Regions from separate parts of the Homo sapiens genome. Here region 2 is linked to region 1. The links are contacts of gene promoters, found by promoter capture Hi-C in blood cells and fetal thymus (Javierre and others, 2016). All regions are on one chromosome and are shown on one strand. Each heading gives the region's core, a stretch centred on a gene start or on the middle of the fragment in contact. The rest is flanking DNA. Distances are from core to core; before and after follow the strand shown. Region 1 holds the start of SPINK1 (serine peptidase inhibitor Kazal type 1). Region 2 overlaps DPYSL3 (dihydropyrimidinase like 3).

Region 1 (2,700 bases), core at 73-2,572:
GTGGATAAGTTCATGGAAGGGAAAGGGAACTAATATGATAGCAATCAAATAAGGAAACATTCCTGAAAATTAATTTTAATATCATCAATCTTTGAGGTGATCTGAGCAAAGAGGTAGTTCTTTGTATCTAAATGTAATGAAAATTAGTGAGGCATCTATGAGCTTGGAGAATTTCCCCCGGGATAGTCAGAACTTGATGTTGTTGGGGGCCCACTGGCTTTTAGAATCTAGTTGAGTCTAAAAACTGAAGAGCAGGTGCTCATCACAGGCATCTATTTGTATTAATTAACATGCATGAGGAGGGGGAAAGGGAACACTGACTGTTGCCATAAATATTCAGCAAATAAAACAAACAATATTCTTCCTCTTCTTAGCAAAGTGCTGATTTGGCTCTCCACAGGATCCTTCACTACATGAGAGGTGAAGTTGAAAATGTTAACCATTTCCAGTGATAAAAAGGAAACTGATCTTGGCTCTGCGGGTTCAGAGTTGTCTGTCAACATTGTCAAGATGCAGTTGGAGGTATATGTGCACCATCTATTCAAGCAGAATATTTTCTTTCAAAACATTCAAAATGTGTAATGTAAATACACAAAATGCAATTTTTGTATTTCCAGATACTAATAAGAAATACCAGGAATTGAAAATAAAAAATTCCCTTTATATCACATATATTAGCTATTCAGGGATAAATCTGACAAACTATACATGATTCAAGTACACTGAAACCTATACAATAAAAAAATAAATTTTTAATCAGTCAAATTATGCCTTTTATACTGAATAACTGGAAGCCATTTATCTATTTTATGCAATCCCATGAGAATTTAAAATTTGTAATTTGGCCTTACACATTTACAGAATGAGAAGTATACTTAAAGTTAAAATATTTTTACCCTTTTTTCTCTACCATATCCCAACAAAGGGTCAGCCACATCAATAGAGGAAAACCATTTTATTTCTGGGAATTTCTTACTAGTAGAATTGTTTTCCTTATAGTAGGTTAAAAATTCCTCTTAAAAAATAATTCTTACCTGTTGATTTTATTTCATCTCATTAGGTCCAAAACATCTCTCGAAGACTAGACTACATCAAAAGTCTAGAAGATAATGTGCTTCACAAAGCAACAGGTCAAAACAGTTTTATTTAAATTTGAAAAATATGCAACACTTACCAGATAGACTCAACAGGGCCAAGGCACTGAGAAGAAAGATGCCTGTTACCTTCATGGCTGAAGTTCTGCGTCCAGAGGTCAGTTGAAAACTGCACCGCACTTACCACGTCTCTTCAGAAGCCTGGGACTGGAAGGGTCATATGGCAGATGGCAGCAAGGCCCCACCTACTGGGCTATATCACAGATCTCCCTGGTTATTGATTGACTCTGTGTCATAGCCTGGCCTCCAGGTTCTGGGAATGTCACCTGTGTAAGAAAGGTGAAAGGAGCCAGGTGGGCCTGAAACATGCAAGGCAAAGATTCTGTCAGGAAAATAGTTCTAGTGGTTAGTTTGATCCCTAACTCCCTCTGTGGTTGTGGGAAAGTCATTCCCTTCTCAAGCCTGTTTTCTCACCTGTAAGATGAACTCAAAGATCCCTTCTACTCTGTAGTTCTGGATAGATGAGCAGGTATGGATAGCTACTAGAAAGAATTTTATTCCAAGTAGGGTAAAACCTCTCCATTCTTTTTTCCTTTCCTCCACTCTTCCTTTCTTATTCTTCTTTCTCTTTTCTCTATTTTTCCCTCACTCATTCACAAAACCTAAAGTAGCTGATGGAGTGGCAGATGAGAGGGAAAGAGAAAGCAAGAGAGAGAGAGGACTCAGTTCCCTAAAGCGTGTATTCTGGAGCTAGAGGGTGCTTGTTGGAGCCACTTTTGCTGTGCTTCTGTGTATTCATCTGGAAATTAAAATAATAATAACACCTAATTCAAAGGGTTACTCTTTCATCTGAGAATATGTGCTGGGTAAAAGAGAATATGTGCTGGATATCTACCATGTGTTATTAGAAGAGAATTCTCCATCCTCTCTCATGTTTTGGTGTGTCTTATGAGTAGAGGTACTGATAACCTTTGTTTCAGACTATCTTTTTAAGGGTGTTTATATAACAAACGACCTTAGAAAATACGTAATGTCTCCCTCTGCACCAAAAGGCAGGTTTGTTTACTGTTTAGTGTAATAAAGTTAATATCTCCTTCTAGGGCAAAGACCATGTTAATTGCCCTTTACAAAAGATTTCGGGTTTTTAAAAGCTTGGCCTTTCTTTCCTTTAACACACTGTACTTTCCCTGCAACTATCACTTGATGCCCCTTAAATTGGCCTGTGGAAATTGGGGCTTGGGAAACCAGAACAAATTCCAATACTCTGGCTGTTGCTATGGAATAATTAAGTCCCTTTTCTCTGAGCCAGGAGTCTGTGCCTTCTGCCAGAAACCATTATAATGTGGCAGGCTAACTTCTTAGCTTCCAAGTAGGATAAAATCTCAAACCCTTCCCAAGTCATGACAAGAACTGTATTTATCTCTTAAGACAGATCAGTAAATAAAAATAACAATCTCTGTCTTCATGGAGCTTCCATTGCCTTTTTGTTGAGGGAGGCAAGTGACAAAAAATAATAAGTGATTATAAAATATATCAGATAAATATTATGGAGAAAAGGACAAGAAGGATAAGGGTGCTGGAGGGTTAAGGAGATATGTATCATAGC
Region 2 (2,700 bases), core at 1-2,500, 390 kb before region 1:
TTTTAGTTTGGCTTCAACTAAAAAACAACCGACAATAAATCTGTCATTTCATTTTTGTTGTTAATGCAAAGATCTCGGAAAAAATCAAAACAATGCAAAAAAAATGAGATTCATTTAACTAGATTTTCCAAGGAATGTAATAATATATAGCTATTAAAAATTAAATTATGGAAGGATATTTAAAACATGGAAAGATGTCGTAATATATTGTGCAATGAAAAGTAAGGCATAAAACAGCGTAAACAATATGTGGAATCATTTTAATAAATGGCAAATATAGTCAAAAAAAAAAATCTAGATGGGTATACTGAAAGTTTACAGTGGTTCTCTCTGAGTAATTTCATTGTAGCTTATTTTTATTGTCCTTATTGTTTGTGATTTTGGTAAATTTTTCTACAACCAGCATACTTATTTTGTAATGGAAAAAAAGCCTTAGTTAATTTTAAAATCCTTGTGTCCCACAGTAAAACAGATAGTAGCAAAAACACTAATTAGGTGGGTACCACTTGGGTGTTGGTTTTATTATTCATAAGATGGGGCATTAGACTTAAAAAAAATATTGACCCAGCAATCCCATTACTGGGTATATACCCAAAGAAATATAAATCATCCTACTATAAAGACACATGCACACGTATGTTTATTGCAGCACTATTTACAATAGCAAAGACATAGAACCAATGATAGACTGGATAAAGAATATGTGGTACATATACACCATGGAATACTATGCAGCCATAAAAAGGAATGAGATCATGTCCTTTGCAGGGACATGGATGAAGCTAGAAGCCATCGTTCTCAGCAAGCTAACACAGGAACAGAAAACCAGACACCGCATGTTCTCACTTATAAGTGAGAGTTGAACATTGAGAACACATGGACACAGAGAGGAGAACAACACACACCAGGGCCTGTTGGGGGTTGGGGGGGTGATGGGAGGGAACTCAGAGGATGGGTCAATAGGTGCAGCCAACCACCACGGCACATGTATACCTATGTAACAAACCTGCACGTTCTGCACATGTATCCCGTTTTTTTTTTTTTAAGGAGAGATAAAGAAAAAAGTTATCTCCATGGAGACTCTGAAAGTATGAATTTTACAGAGCCATAGTAAGTCAAACCTCAAAAGAATCTTACTTAAGATATATTTAAGAGAATGGGGCATGCAGTGTGGAGTATGAAATGAGAAGGTGGCATTTAAATTCACGTTAGGAAGAATCCCTAATTGGTAGTTTTGCTAATTCAATGCAAAGATGCTGAGAGTGGTGGGAATCTCCCTGGCAAGTTGTTTGTGTAAGTATAACAGTGTGGAGCAGCTTTGGACATGCCAGAAACAAAGCCGCTCTTAACAGGAGGGCTAGAGGGCTTCCTGATGCCAAGCAGTGCTAAGGAGTCCATCCCCCTTGCAGAAGAGGGGCACCAACTGTTTTCCATGTCCCCCATAACCTACACCACTCATACCTTATAGGAAACAGGTGCAGAGAAGGACTTACCCCTGGACTTGAAGTAAGTGAACTCCAATTGGAATCAAAGTCTTGTGACTCCAGAGGTGGGAGAGGGATAAGTTATTATCCCTCCGGAGGGATAATTTAAGGTAGCACCATACCGTGGGGTTAAGAATGGGGGCTCTAAGTCACATAAACTTAAGTTTGAATTTTGGTTCCATCATTTAAGCCTTGTGTGATATTAGGCAAATTACTTAATCTCTCTAAATTTCCTCATCAATAAAATGGAAAGAAAGACCTGGTGAAAAATCTATCTACCTAATTAAGTTGTTTTGATAATTAAGTGAGATAATGAATAAAAAGCACTTTACACAGGGTACAATAAATGTGAATTATTCTTATTATTAAACTAACTTTTGCCAGAGCTTATGGTCAATAAATATCTTTTATGCAATAAAAAATAGCAAAATGCTTTTATCATACCTGATTATATTATATATGACACTCTTATAACACACATAGTTCTTCAAACACTTTCTAATCAAAGGTTTTTGGTTCCATGAATATACTTTGATTCTCCCATTTTGTCCTCCCTTTAAAAGGCTCTAGTGATTACCATTACACATAAACCTATTGAAACCATAAACTCTCTGGTTTGTACCCAGAGATAAGCCTGGTAAAATCTGTGTTAACTGGCCCCACCCCTCAAACCAAAGAATTACATTTAGAATAAAAACGAGTAATAAGAATAGCTCCAAATGTAGCTCAGAGAAAGCTGACAGGTGCAGTGGGGTAAGAGACTAAAAATCTTTTGAAACACACAGACACAAAACCATTCCATGTAAATGTCCAGCCCTAATAGGGAAACAAAAAGAACTATGAGCTGCTTCTTAACCAATACTTCCAAAATACCAAGTTTGCTTTACAAATGCAGATTGGTCTATCTAGTTGCTGCTAATAACTCTAATGACTTTGTAGTTTACGTGCAAAGGCAGAAAGAGACCTCAATTAAGATCTATGTTGTATTCTGGTTCAAAGAGTCATGGTGACAGTTTCCTCTATATGAAAGACGACATAAAGGTCTGCATTAATTCTTTCAAATCATTTGCAGTAAGAGAAATGATGTCTTTGTTGCAGGCAATAAGTATCCAGGTAGGCCCCTGAAACAAGCTCAGAATGAGCCCAGATGCAGAAGCTGGAAGAAAAAGAGGACTGGAGGCCAGACAAGAAAGAAGTCCAAGTGATGGATGGACTT

The links. Contacts are between HindIII fragments. The CHiCAGO score rates a contact against its expected background, and 5 or more counts as called.
Region 2: a fragment that was not itself captured here is called in contact with the fragment with the promoter of SPINK1 in region 1 in 2 of 17 cell types (fetal thymus and total B cells); the score reaches 5.6 in fetal thymus.

Annotation. Positions count from the first base shown.
Region 1 is chr5:147,830,349-147,833,048 of GRCh38, forward strand. SPINK1 (serine peptidase inhibitor Kazal type 1) reads right to left here and starts at 1,323. Exons shown (of 4, transcript NM_001379610.1): 1 at 1,175-1,323. The coding sequence starts at 1,229. It overlaps LOC124901101 (a long non-coding RNA gene), which reads left to right and starts at 157. Exons shown (of 2, transcript XR_007058987.1): 1 at 157-522; 2 at 1,061-1,263. The HindIII fragment of the contact is 4,964 bases long and covers 1-2,243 here.
Region 2 is chr5:147,442,563-147,445,262 of GRCh38, forward strand. The region is part of intron 1 of DPYSL3 (dihydropyrimidinase like 3); the gene reads right to left. Among named protein-coding and RNA genes, the nearest start is that of DPYSL3, 66 kb to the right of the region's middle. The HindIII fragment of the contact is 3,197 bases long and covers 1-2,700 here.